Linked DNA regions of Homo sapiens: all the other regions are linked to region 3. Evidence: promoter capture Hi-C in 16 types of primary human blood cells and fetal thymus (Javierre and others, 2016). All regions are on one chromosome and are shown on one strand. Each heading gives the region's core, a stretch centred on a gene start or on the middle of the fragment in contact. The rest is flanking DNA. Distances are from core to core; before and after follow the strand shown. Region 1 overlaps PPM1E (protein phosphatase, Mg2+/Mn2+ dependent 1E). Region 2 has its middle 120 kb from the start of TRIM37. Region 3 holds the start of PPM1E (protein phosphatase, Mg2+/Mn2+ dependent 1E). Region 4 overlaps PPM1E (protein phosphatase, Mg2+/Mn2+ dependent 1E). Region 5 overlaps PPM1E (protein phosphatase, Mg2+/Mn2+ dependent 1E).

The links. The method cuts DNA at HindIII sites, captures the fragments that hold promoters and counts their contacts. A CHiCAGO score of 5 or more calls a contact.
Region 1: a fragment that was not itself captured here is called in contact with the fragment with the promoter of PPM1E in region 3 in 3 of 17 cell types (erythroblasts, endothelial precursors and M0 macrophages); the score reaches 7.6 in erythroblasts.
Region 2: a contact is called between a fragment that was not itself captured here and the fragment with the promoter of PPM1E in region 3, in 6 of 17 cell types (megakaryocytes, naive B cells, naive CD8 T cells and 3 more). The highest score is 7.3, in megakaryocytes.
Region 4: a fragment that was not itself captured here is called in contact with the fragment with the promoter of PPM1E in region 3 in 4 of 17 cell types (erythroblasts, megakaryocytes, endothelial precursors and 1 more); the score reaches 6.0 in erythroblasts.
Region 5: a contact is called between a fragment that was not itself captured here and the fragment with the promoter of PPM1E in region 3, in 1 of 17 cell types (M1 macrophages). The highest score is 5.5, in M1 macrophages.

Annotation. Positions count from the first base shown.
Region 1 is chr17:58,946,743-58,949,442 of GRCh38, reverse strand. All of the region lies in intron 1 of PPM1E (protein phosphatase, Mg2+/Mn2+ dependent 1E), which reads right to left. Among named protein-coding and RNA genes, the nearest start is that of TRIM37, 160 kb to the left of the region's middle. The HindIII fragment of the contact is 708 bases long and covers 1,052-1,759 here.
Region 2 is chr17:58,985,773-58,988,472 of GRCh38, reverse strand. It overlaps a transcript of TRIM37 not described here. Among named protein-coding and RNA genes, the nearest start is that of TRIM37, 120 kb to the left of the region's middle. The HindIII fragment of the contact is 3,205 bases long and covers 1-2,700 here.
Region 3 is chr17:58,754,590-58,757,289 of GRCh38, reverse strand. It overlaps PPM1E (protein phosphatase, Mg2+/Mn2+ dependent 1E), which reads right to left and starts at 1,436. Exons shown (of 7, transcript NM_014906.5): 1 at 829-1,436. The coding sequence starts at 1,292. It overlaps LOC105371843 (a long non-coding RNA gene), which reads left to right and starts at 1,180. Exons shown (of 3, transcript XR_007065866.1): 1 at 1,180-1,259. RefSeq lists silencers at 1,280-1,428, 1,428-1,617. The HindIII fragment of the contact is 8,580 bases long and covers 1-2,116 here.
Region 4 is chr17:58,969,528-58,972,227 of GRCh38, reverse strand. PPM1E (protein phosphatase, Mg2+/Mn2+ dependent 1E) reads right to left here. Exons shown (of 7, transcript NM_014906.5): 4 at 2,501-2,689; 5 at 1-96. It also overlaps a transcript of TRIM37 not described here. Among named protein-coding and RNA genes, the nearest start is that of TRIM37, 140 kb to the left of the region's middle. The HindIII fragment of the contact is 2,496 bases long and covers 180-2,675 here.
Region 5 is chr17:58,909,497-58,912,196 of GRCh38, reverse strand. The region is part of intron 1 of PPM1E (protein phosphatase, Mg2+/Mn2+ dependent 1E); the gene reads right to left. Among named protein-coding and RNA genes, the nearest start is that of PPM1E, 150 kb to the right of the region's middle. The HindIII fragment of the contact is 989 bases long and covers 913-1,901 here.

The DNA.
Region 1 (2,700 bases), core at 156-2,655, 190 kb before region 3:
AAACAAAAACAAGACCCAACTATATGCTGTCTACAAGAAACTCACCTCATCTATAAGGATATACACAGACTGAAAGTGAAGGGATGGAAAGAGATATTCCACGCAAATGGAAACCAAAAGCAAGCAGGAAAAGCTATATTTATATCAGCTAAAACAGACTTTAAGTCGAAAGCTATAAAAAGAGACAAAGAAGGACATTATATAGTAATTAAGGAAACAATTCAAGAAGCTATAACAATTGTAAATATACATGCACCTAAGACCAGCACACCCAGATTCATAAAGAAAATACTATTAGATCTAAAGGAAGAGACAGATGCCAATACAATAACAGCTGGGGACTTCAACACCCAACTCAGCATTGCAGAAATCATCTAGGCAGAAAATCAACAAGGAAACATCAGATAAACCATAGCATAGCTCTAACAGACATTTACAGAACATTTCACCCAACAGCTGCAGAATATGCATTCTTTTTATTAGCAAATGGAACATTCTCCAGAATTGACTACATGTTAGGACACAGAACAAGGCTAAAAAAATTTTTTTAATTGAAGTCATATCAAGTATCTTATCTGACTATGGAATAAAACTAGAAACCAATAACAAGTGAAACATTCAAAATTACACAAATACATGGAAATTACACAACATGCTCCTAAACAACCAATGGGTGAAGAAAGAAATTAAGAAGGAAATTGACTAATTCCTTGAAACAAATGAAAACAGAAACACAACATACCAAAACCTATGGGACTCAGCCAAAGCAGTATATAATATGTCTCTGCAGTAAAAATATGTATGAAAATTGAAATTAAATTTTTAAAAACTTTCTGTGACCATAAGGCTCCAGCGTTAAACATTTTCTTTTTCATTGCCTTATCAGTGTAACTACTGGTACACAAATGATCTAATATAGTATACACTTTGATAAACATAAAAATTAAACTCTCATTGGAGAATTTTTTTTTAAAGGAAGAAACCTTACTTGCCAGATAAGAAATCTTATCTGCCATGGTCTTGGCCTCAATGAAATCTTGGACCTCAAGCTTCAGCCTAATACCATAATGGGATTAGACTTTGGGAAATCTTAGGGGATGTTGGGTGAGTGCATTTAGCACATGGGAAGGATGTGAATTGTGTGGCCAGAAAAGACTGTGGCAGATTATTTTTAAAAAGGCCGCAACAGCATTCCTGGTCCCGCATGCTATTTTAGAACTTTGCCATTCCCCATAAAAAAATAGAGTCTGTTTCCCTTCCTAATCTAAACATGGGTGAGGTGTGGTGACTACTCGGATGAAAAAAATGTAGCAAAAGTGATACTGTGTGACTTTTGAAGTTTGTTCATAAAAGGCCACGTGGCTTCCCCCGGCTTCCTCTTCTTTCTTCCTCTGTCTCCCTCTGGATACTTGCTCTTCATACTCAGCCAAGCCATCAAGCCATGAGGAAGCCCAAACTAGCCATGTGGAGAAACCACATGAACAGGCTCATGTGGATGTAGCCTGAGGTCTCCCAGGCAGTAGCCATTATCAATTGCTTGACATGTAAGTTCACAAGCCTTCAGATGATTCCAGTCCCCCAGCCTGAGTCTTCCAACAGAGACCCCAGTTGGAACAGAGATAAGGTGACCTTGCTTTACCCAGTTTTAATTTCTGACTGAAAGACATTGTGAGCATAATAAATAATTGTTTTATGCCACTAAGTTTTGTGGTAATTTGCAATACAGTGACAATAACTGAAAACCCAATATTTAGAAGCTTAGTAGAAGACAAGGGACCTATGAAGACTAAAGAGAAATGGCAAAATCTGTAAAAGGAGAACCGAGATAGTAGAGAGTATTTGAAGGAGGGAGCAGTGAACTCTGTCAATTGCTGAGAGGTCAAATAAGTGAAAAAAAAAAAAAAAAGGCCAGGTGCAGTGTCTCGTACCCGTAATCCCAGCCCCTTGGGAGGCCAAGGTGGGTGGATCACCTGAGACCAGGAATTCAAGACCAGCCTGGCTAACATGGTGAAACCCTGTCTCTACCAAAAATACAAAAACTAGCTGGGTGTGGTGGTGCACGCCTATAATCCCAGCTACTTGGGTGGCTGAGGCATGAGAATCGCCTGAACCCAAGAGGCAGAGGTTGCAGTGAGCTGAGATCACGTCACTGCACTCCAGCCTGGGTGATAAAGCAAGACTGTCTCAAAAAAAAAAAAAAAAAAAAAAAGGCCAGGAGTGTGGCTCACACTTGTAATCCCAACACTTTGGGAGACCGAGGTGGGCAGATCACACTCAAGCCTGGGCAACAGAGCAAGACTGTCTAAAAAAAAAAAAAAAAAAAAAAAAAAAACAGGAAAAAGGAAAATAACTTTCTGTTTAACAAAATGGTCAAATGGTGCTGGAAAAATTGGATATCCACATGCAAAATAATCAAGTTGGACCCCTTCCTTACACCATATACAAAAATTAATGCCAAATGCATCACAGACCTAAATGTAAAGCTAAAACTCATAAAACTCCTAAAAGAAAACTCCTAAAAGAGTAAATCTTCATGACCTTGGATTAGGCAATGGTTTTCTTAGCTCTGACACCAAAAGCACAAGCAGAAAAGAAAAAAAATATTAAATTGGACTACATCAAAATTTAAAACTTTTGTATCACAAATCAGTAAAGTGAAAAGACAACCCATAGACTGGTAGAAAATATTTGCAAATCTGC
Region 2 (2,700 bases), core at 106-2,605, 230 kb before region 3:
TAGTCCCTTCTCTCTGCTGCAGTGACTTTTCACCAGTGTCCAGACGGCAACAGTATTTGTGCTCCTTTTCCCTCATAGGGTGCTTTTGTTCTGTGAGATGAGAGAAAGGGTATGGTAAGTTCCTTTACCCATGCCCAAGGCCGCTGTATACTCCCCTGGGTGTGTGTCACAGCCGACACTTCTTAGGGCTCTTTACAGTATTTTCTGAGCCCCTGGTAGAGATTGTAAAGAAAAAGCCTGCAAGATAGGGCGACTCCCCTAGTTTCTGCAGGCCCCCGGGTCTTAACACTCCTGCAGCCCATATTCTGCCTTCACCAATCATCACTTTTAGCTAGCCTATTCTTTCCAGTGTCTGTTTACAACGACCCTACGAAACTAGTGCTAATGTCTTCTCTCCCCTTGCAGGCAACTGCCCCTCTCCATTTGGTGCCACTTGGTTACTCTGCAACCTCAGCTTTCCAATGGATTCGAAAAAATGTCCTAATTTATAGTTCATCTGGCTCGTTTGCATTGTAAGAGTAGAAGAAATGCTCCTTCTACCCCTACATCCCGGAGTGGAAGCTGGAAGTGCTGTGATTTAAAAATGTATATATGTAAAACACACATTTTATTGAATGTAAAACATGAGTGTAATTAATCCTAAAACCAGAATTCAGAAAATGAGCCATTTTTAATTTTTTTATCTAGTTTTTTAAATGTTTGAATTATAAAGGTGATAAGATTAGAAAAATTTGGGAAATAGAAAACCCCAAGAGCTATTTTCTTTTTTGCATATTCATTTGAATTTTTATGTGGTAATATTTTTAGATTTCTCCTCATTCTACCTCTCATTCTCACATCTACCAATACATGCCTTCATAGTCTAGATTTATAGAAGTTTTAGAACTCTGCTTAGGGATGCTTAAGAGCAAATGGTAAGATTAGCCACAGTGTAGTTTGGGACATCAGTAGTACGGGCTGCTCTCTTTCTAAAATCCTTTTCTCTGGCTGGCATGTTGACCGGGAGTCTCCCTTCCATTCCTGCTCTGCAGACCCTGCGGGCCAGAGTCCTTGCCCGAGACCTTCAGGTCAGTCAGTGTCTCCTGGTGTGCATTTGGGAAAGGCTGCTGCATAGGCTCACCTCCCACTGGGTTTCATTTGACCTAGTGAACCCGTAGCAACTCGATTTGGCTTAATTGGCCACCCCTAATCCTGTAGCTGTCATACTACTCAATGTAATGACTAGCAGGGACAACTTTTTCATCATCTTTAGTTAAACTCCAGTTACTCATTTGGAAAATGGTTTCCCCAAATGTGTATCATTCTTGACAGTTTTTCACATTTGTTTCCCTGGTCCTAAAGCAAGATTATAAAAATCAAATAGAACCTGTGTGTGAGGGCCCTTGTTTGCACAATGAGGAGAGGACACACTTCATCTGGAGGTTGCGTGACTGGGGCAGCATCCTACAGCTCAGCATAAGAGGCAGGCTCAACCAACTGCCCAGGGAAGAGCGCTTCTTACTAAACATATTCAACAGTTGGGGCTCTCAGAAAAGAATGTGACTTGTTTTAAATGTAAGTAAGGGATCTTCCATAAGGTTATTCCTAGGCCAAGCAAAAGGAGGTTCCCTAAAGCACAATAGAAAAAGTGTTCTTTACTAATTGCTGTTAAGATGACAGATGGGGCTGGGCGTGGTGTCTCACACCTGTAAATCCCAGCACTTGGGGAGGCCAAGGCAGGCAGATCACTTGAGGTCAGGTGTTCAAGACCAGTCTGGCCAACATGGCAAAACCCCGTCTCTACTAAAAACACAAAAGCCAGGCGTGGTGGCCGACGCCTGTAATCCCAGCATCCTGGGAGGCTGAGGCACAAGAATTGCTTGAACCTGGGAGGCAGAGGTTGCAGTGAGCCGAGATTGCACCACTGCACTCCAGCCAGGGTGACACAGCAGGACTCTTGTCTCAAAAAAGAAAAAAAAAAAAAAAAAAGACAGATGGAAACTTGCAATCAAAAAGAAAATGATGCACTTAGGGAGGCCGAGGTGGGAGGGTGGATCATCTGAGGTCAGGAGTTCGAGACCAGCCTGGCCAACATGGTGAAACCCCACCTCCACTAATAATAATAAAATGAGCTGGGTGTGGTGGCGGGCGCCTGTAATCCCAGCTACTTGGGAGATTGAGGCAGGAAAATCGCTTGAACCTGGGAGGCAGAGGTTGTGGTGAGCCAAGATCACGTCACTGCACTCCGGCCTGGGTGACAGAATGAAACTCCATCTCAAAAGAAGGAAAGGAAATGATGCACACTGACAGCAACAGGGGGCGGGTGTGGGGGGGAATGCTCAGTTATGCAGCTTGTCAGTACAGACAGTTGTTTCTGATAATTTGGTAACTTGGGTAAATTTCTATGATGTTCAAATGATTTTACTGTACCTAGTGGTTCCCTTCTGTCTTGCTGTGTGCTGCTCCTTCAGAAAGAGGTGTTCCTTTTGATCTAAGTAATACTATATTTTAGGGAATTTTTTCAAGTGTAACACTTACTAATCAAAATGTTCCTTTTCTGTCATTCCCTGCTTCAGTAAACCCCTTCAAATATGTCCTTCTTTCAAAACTTCACCTTTTTTTTCTCAATTGTTCATTTGGTTCTATATAAAGTCATGCCAAGGACTGAATGAATTTAGGGAATTAGGAGTTGAAGATTTTTGAAACTATGTAAAATTAATT
Region 3 (2,700 bases), core at 187-2,686:
ATCCCATCTACTTAATGGACTGAAAATACTGCACCTAATTGCAATTTAATCAAAACAGCCTGACTTTTCCACTTTAATGAATTATGGCTCTTTCACCCGAAGGCTTGCTTGCAAAATTTTGCTTACCCTTCCCTCTCAATTCCTTCCCACTTCCCTCAATTATGGAATGTCAAATGTCTAAACTAAGAGACTAGGCTTCCCTGTGTGAAAACATCTAAAAAGCCCTTCACTTTCAACACTGAGCACCTGACGGAAAATCTACTCCATTCTCTCATCTGGATACGGGGCCGGTATAACCATCATTGTTGCAGTTACGCAGGAGGCACCTCGCAGCTCAGTCTAGAAAGGAGTCGCGTCTCTGCCGCCAAACAACAAGGCACTCAGCCCGGGAAAAGACAGACTGGGGTGGGAGGAAACCTCCCGGAGAAAGAAGGGATCTGGGAAGAAGAGGGAGCTCAAGCCTGGGAGGAAGGACCTTTCCAGGCAGGAAAGGGAAAGGTTGCGTGAAGTGGAGCTAGAAGCTGGGGGCCGAGGTGAAAGGGGATGAGGGGCCCGGGCCCGGCGGGAGGGCGCCGGGGCTCAGGAGAGCGGCTTCAAGGCCGGGTAGGAGGCGTGGGGGCCGAGGCGGGCGTGGGGGCCGAGGCGGGCGTGGGCAGCTCTCAGCCGACCGCCCGGGTCCGAGCAGCGGGGGCGCTTTCAGCGGCGGCAGGCGCGGGTGCGGGGGAGAGGAGCAGAAAAGAGAGCAGTTTGAGGGGCCGAGGGAGCCGCGTCCGAGGCCGGCGCGGTGGGGACCGCGGGCCCACCACCAGCCAAGCCCAGCTACTTAACTATTTGTAGAGCTGCTGCAGGCACAGGTCCAGGCTTTCGCCCTCCACCTCCTCGCGGGTGATGCGCTCTGACAGCGGTCGCGGGAGCGGGGGCAAAGGCGGCAGCTGGGGCGGCGGCGGCGGCACGGCCGAGTGCCCCGGGGCTGCCGCCGCCGTCGCCGCGCCCTCCTCCTCCTCCTCACCCTCAACCGCCGCCTCCTCCTCGGGCTCCGGGTCTTGCTCCTGGTCCCCCTCCTCCGTCGCGGCTACCGTGGCCGCCTCCTCCCCGGGTTCCTCTACCGAAGCCTCGGCCGCCTCAGCTTCTACCAGTTCAGGTTCGGGCTCGGGCTCGGACTCGGGTTCGGGTTCGGGTTCGGGTTCGGGTTCCGGCTCCGGCTCGCCGCCGCCGCACGGTCCGCGAAACTCGCCCAGGAATAGCTCCAGGAAGCGCCGGTAAGTTTTCTCCTCAGGGATGCAGCCGGCCATCGCTGCTCATGCCCCAGGGCAGACCGGGAAAGGGGTTGGGGGAAGCCCAGGAAGGGTAAGGGGCTGCTTTTGAGCCTAGGGCTCCGGCAAGGGCGGTTAACGGCCGCACCGGCACGAGCGATCAGCACTAGGTTGCCTGGAGAGGGCTCCCGCAGGCGTGCGCGCCGCCGAGCACCGACGTGCGCGGCCCGGGGGCGGAGCGCGCCGCCCCTCTCGGATCTGGAGGGAAAGTTGGTGGCGGGCGCGCGCAGGGTCCAGCGGCGGCCCACCCTTTATTCCTACGGAGAGCTCAGCCCACGCTGCCTAGAGACTGTCGCCATGGCAACCGGTTCTAATTAAGCATTGCAGGGTCCCTCCCGTCGAGTCCGCGGAGTCTAAAGGACACTCCACTCGCCCGCTCTCCAACTCTGAATGTCTTTATTGGTTGGATACCCTACCCTCACGTGGTTAAGAGTGAGCTAAGACATCTCCAAGTCTAGCTGTTGGTTCCCACTTGGGTTGCTTGGATCCCAATTGGATGTACTTCCATTTCCTTATCTGTTCCTTGCCTTAGCGTATGTTTTGAAAGATACCACACTGTGAACACCTTTTGTTGCAGTCTTTGAATAAGTAGTTTTCAGGCAGAGGGAGCTTCAAATACCTACCAAGTGATAAGTTCCTTTGCATAGGTTCTCTCTCACTTGATTCTGTGAAGAAAGTGGTGTTACTCTCATTTCTTAAAAGGAAACTGAAAATTATGATATTAATGGTAATTTACTTGTTTCAAGGTCTCCAAACTTCCAGCCTTGGCGTTGGAGAACTCAGGTCGTTCAGTCGCCAAAGCTTTCCGAAAGTGCATTTTTCCTTAACTCAACTCTGTCTCCGGAGATTCAATAGTGCAATTGTCTGTATAACACCTTATTTCTATTGGGCTTCATAGTTTACACATTGATTTCACCCTTTTAATTCTTACCACAGTCCCTTGAGGTATAGGACGTTACCGTTATGATTTTTTTTTTTTTGAGACAATCTCGCTCTTGTCACCCAGGCTGGAGTGCAGTGGCGCGATCTCAGCTCACTGCAACCTCCGCCTCTCGGGTTCAAGTGATTCTCCTGCGTCAGCCTCCCAAGTAGCTGGGATTACAGGGGCCTGCCACCACCCCCGGCTAACTTTTGTATTTTTAGTAGAGACGGGGTTTCACCATATTGGCCAGGCTGGTCTCAAACTCCTGACCTCAGGTGATCTGCCTGCCTCAGCCTCCCAAAGTGCTGGGATTACAGGTGTGACCCACCACGCCGGCCAATTATTCCATTTTATAGGTGAGAAAACAGCCTTAAAGACATGGTGACTTTGCTCAAGGTCACATGCAAGGGATGCAACAAGGACTCAATCCAGGTCTTTTCACTGGATTCACCCACTTCAATGGAT
Region 4 (2,700 bases), core at 178-2,677, 210 kb before region 3:
TCTCACAAGCATAACCTGGGAATCACCCACCCAGGCCACATGTAGCATGTTGCCTCTGATGAAAGTCACCACTCCTGTGGTCCCACATCTTAAGCTCTGAAAACAGTTTAAATAAAACTAGACTCAGTGAAAAGAAATAGATACTACATTCTTATTGAGAAGCAATTTATAATTAAGCTTTTCAGCTGGGAGCTATACTATTAATAATGGAATTTCACACATATATAATAATTCATTGTCTCAATGCATTTGTATATGCATGTATGTATTTATGTGTATATACACACATAAGTCCACCTGATCTGTGATATGCAGGGCGAGGATGATTATTAATTCCACTTTAAATATAGATAAGAAAACTATGGCAGGTTATGTGACTTGCCCAAGGGCAGGTAACTATTAGTATATAAGACAGAATTGAAATTCTTTTTCCTCCCAGTCAAGCACTAAATCCTCTATACCAATCCTCAGAGTAAAAATTTCTATATTCTGCTCTCCATTTCATTACTGACATCGTATTTGTTCAGTGGGAGAGTCCTAGCTGTATAAAATGATATATAAAACATCTGATTGGTACACAACAGATGCTCTAATCTCTGGAAATTAAGCTAAGGGGCCAAGAGACAGCTTACGTTCCCTGGAGTACTAAGATGCTTATACCTTTAAAAAAATATCCTTCCTACAGTATTTTTAGGGGTCTTTGCTTTTGGAACATTGCATAAAGAACTAACAGCCTGGAATTTCACTGCAGTAGCTACGACTGTACTTAAAGCTCTTGGTCCTACTATACGAAAATGACATCCCCATTTGACATGAGTCACCACCAAATGAGCATGACTTTCTGTTACTAAGGACCTGGCCTAAATTAGAACCAATGCGTCAGGGGTGGTAAAAGGTCTCTTGTATCCAATGAGAAAAACAACTTCTCGTTTTCCCTATATAGGGAAAGTTTGTTATAAATCCTCACCCACCAATAAAATGTCTTCCCACACAGAATGTTCAAAAACTCAGCCCCCTAGAACACATGATAAACACACTTCAGTGCATATGCCCTGGAGAGAACAGGAGGCAGGGCTGCTTCATAACAGGAATAGCTGTTTTCTTCCCAGCAGTTAGCAGCACATGGAAGCATAAGAAGGAGAAAAGGGGCGCTGAGACAAACCTAAATTATTCAGAACTATTGGCAGAACTGAGAGACACCAGGGTCACTGACAAAACAAATGAGGTAAACATGGTCAGAAAACAACAACAACAACAACAACACATAATTTTGAGAAGACAGAGGAAAAAAAGAATAGAATAGAGGATGAAGAAGACAGAGTGAATCTCTTTGTTTCACATTGATGATTACGGGTCACCTCTCAGGGGCCGGCCCTTGTCCTCGACTCAGATGATAAAAGCCCACAGCTTCAAGAGAGGCAGAGCCAAGCAGAATGCAGGTCCTCAAGAGACTGGAGCTCTGAGGTCAAGAGTGGCTTTATTCTCCAGACCCACCTCTTTGTGTGGACTCTACTGGTTACTGTTGGATTTGCATATTAATCCAAACTTAGGGGAGGGGAGAGATGAAGAATAATTCTCTTTCTTAATACCAAATAGGTCTGAGTTATTGTTTCATTAATTCTAAGCCCCATTATTGCTTGTAGCATAACTATGCTATCAAAAAATGGATTAAATGATTACCCTGATCTCTCCAAGCCCATTTTAAAAAGAGTTAATGTTTAAGTCACAGGGCAGGAGTCTTATTTTTTGTCTGTATCTACTTCTGTAATTATTTTTAAAAATTAAAAATTCTTTTATTCGTCCCCAGTTAAAAATCCAATATAGAACACTGTAGTTAATTATGTACCAATACCCAGAACGATAATTAGATTAATTTTTTTACTTTTAGACCTTAATATAGAGCCCTTGCCATTTATTCAAAGTAAAAAAAACTTAGGTCTGATTAACCTTCGCAATGTAGGACATGAGCTCTTCTTTTCTCCCTATTAAGAGAAAAATCAGCTCAAGGATCATTTAAGGATTCACCCTCTCCAAGCGAATTTTCCCTCAAGAGATACACAGCAAAACACTGCCTACCCATTTAGAACCAAATGTATGGAAGTAATCCCAGTTTCTGTTTCTTTTTTAGACCATTGTTTTATTCACCATATCCAGATCTTGTCAGCAAGAGTCTGCTTAGAGAGATGGTCCTGGTGTGAACCTGACAGGCAATGGTGAATAAAAGAAAGATGAAACTCACCTGCCAAATCCAGCAGTTATTACAGAAATGAATCCAGAAAATTACAGCTTGAGATTTTCTATACAGTACCTCATTGTACCCCCTGAAACTCTTCCTGAGGAGGGAATTGGAACTACAACAGAATCCAATACTGTGAGTCAAGAATACAGTTTGGATAATGTCTGCCCAGAAAGAGAAAATCTAAATAGCCCTTTAACCACACAGACCAAATTGAGCTCAGCTAGTACATTTCTAGCTGGAACTTATGAGAAAGGGGCATACCTCCCTGGCTGCTTTCTGCACAAACCGCTCATCAGTGACCCGGAAGGCCCTGCACAGGGCCTCAGCAGGATCATGGGGGAACATCTCCTGGCGGACTAAGTTAACGTGGAGGTGAATGGAGGCATAAATAGCAGCATCTACTCCCCCATGGCCATCAAACACTGCAAAGTAAGCTTGTTCTTCCTGGTCCTGTCAACAGA
Region 5 (2,700 bases), core at 158-2,657, 150 kb before region 3:
TGCCCAGACATATCCGAACATACCTTGTGCTATAGCAGCGGGACCACTCCTACCCCCTCCCTCCCTTGCAAATCGTGTGTTTACCCTAATTGGAAAAGTTTAAGTCTTAGCCAACCAGGGTCAGCTTAGATTGTACAGTTCAACCCTAGCCAATAGGGGAAGGACACAGGGATAGGGACTGCGTTAGGGATAAAAAATCCTTCTCTCCTTTGTTTGGTGTGCTCTCGCAGAGGCCAGAAGTGCAAGCGGCACCCTTCTGCACAAGTAAATTTGCCTTGCTGAGAAATGGTTTGAGTGCTTGTTTTCCTTGCGACTCTGAGCTCTTGTTTCTAACACTCACTCTCTTAAAAAAAGTACCTTCTTAACATCTTTCTTATTATTTATTTGTGAATGAATGTCTATCTCACTCTTGCCCTCCACAAGGACTCAATCAATAATGTTCACTTATTTATCTTCAGCACCCAGAACAGCACCTAGTATACAGTAGGCATTCAATAAGTATTTGTTGAATGAATGAATGACTTTATATTAAAAACGTACAAAAGAAAAACGCTTCAGGGTTATCTGCATTTTAACAAGAACAATAAACCAAAGAAATAAACCTCTAGTGTTACAATTTTAGATATTATTCTTATTAACCAGTAGAGATACTTTTAAATGCACCTGAAAAGCCTTCAACTGACCCTTTGAAATCATGATGAAATCATGAAATAACCAGATGCTTATTTCATCTGGTCCTAAGGCCTACTCCAATCTTTAGTATGGCCCTGACTATTCTGTAGTACACAAATGGTGGTTAAATGTTATCCCCTATTCCTGTGTTACAATTAAAATAAAGAGAAAAAAATTTGAAGAGAATTATTTTAACAATAGAGGGAAGACTTCCAGCTTTGGTTCCACTTGTAAGAAGCTTGGAAGTGGCCACTCCAACCTAACAACAAGTAAAAAGCTAAGCAAACTGCAAAACCAACAATACTTCTTAGATTCTTAAGAGAAGTGAGGTCACAGTTGCTCCTAAAATTGGACAGGTGTATACAGAGAATTATAAAACATACCCATCAGACACCTCCATAGGAACCAATTCCAGGGTAAGAAAACCTGAACTGTAATTGACAAACTGCTGGAGACTAGGTGTAGAAGTCTGATAGTCAAAAACTCCAGGAAGACCCAGTCAGAGGGGCTCCCCACACTTTTGTGAGTTTCACCTCCAGGAGCTCTACCAGGTCATCACAGTGAGTATCAGAAAAAAATCCCCTCATGAATCTGGCAAGAGGAGGGGAAAAGGAACCATGTTGAAATGCGGCAGAGCACCCTCTTCTTCTTAATAAGGTCTTCTTTCAGAAGAAACTAGCTAACCAGAGTCTAATGTGATGGGGTTTATCAGAGCCTAACTGACCTAGGGGAAGGGCAATACCCATCTCCAGCTCACTCTAGCCTTCTTGTCCCACCTAAGGTGGAGGAAAAAACAAAACCAACCCTGAGAACAATATGTGAAGCTCACAGTCCATAAGTACAGCCTCACTAAAAGAATGAAGTCTAATTACAGGACTAGTTTCCCCTAACTACATACCTTATCACCACATTACTAAAGGGCTATTTATAGCAGTTCCTTTTACCCTATACATCATGTCTGGCTATTAAGAAAAAATTACAAGACATACTAAAAGCAAAAAAAATTTTGAAAAGACAGAACAAGTATCAGAACTAGATATGGTGGAGAGGTTGGGATTATCATACCAGGAATTTAAAACAACTATGATTAATATGCTAAGGGCTCTAATGGATAACGTAGACAACATGCAAAAAGAGATGGGCGGTATAAGCAGAGAGGTGGAAATCTAAAGAAAGAGCCAAAATGAATGCTAGAGATAAAAAACACTGTAAAAGAAATGAAGAAAGCTTTTGATGGGCTTATTAGTAGCCTGGACTTGGCTTAGGAAAGAATTTCTAAGCTTGAGGATATACAATAGAAACCTCCAAAACTGAAAAGCAAATAAGGACTGAAAAAAACAGAACAGAATACTCAAGAACTGTGGGGCAACGAGGCGGGTGGATCACCTGAGGTCAGGAGTTCAAGACCAGCCTGGCCAACATGGCAAAACCCCTTCTCTACCAAAAATACAAAAATTATCTGGGTGTGGTGGCGGGCACCTATAATCCCAGCTAGTTGGGAGGCTGAGGCAGGAGAATCACTTGAATCCAGGAGGTGGAGTTTGCAGTGAGCCAAGATAGCACCACTGCACTCCAGTCTCAAAAAAAAAAAAAAAAAAAAGAAAAAGAAAAAAGAAAGAAAGAAAGAAAGAAAGAAAAATGACTAAGAATTTCCCCAAGGTAATGTCTTGGCACCAAATCACAGACCCAGAAATCTCAGAGAACACCAAGAAGAATAAATGTCAAAAAACAAAAACAAAAACCCTGTACCTAGGAATATCATTTTAAACTATAGAAAATCAAGGATAAAGAATGAAATCTTGAAAGAAGCCAGAAAAATAAAACACCTTACTTACAGAGGAGCAAAGAGAAGAATTGTATCTATCTTTTCCTCAGAAACCATGCAAGCAAGAAGAGAACAGAGTGAAAAAAGGGTTGAGAGAAAAAAACCACCCACCTAGAATTCTGTACCCTGCAATATTCCTTCAAAAGCAAAGGAGAGGTCAGCCATGGTGGCTCACACCTGTCATCCCAGTGCTATGGGGGGAT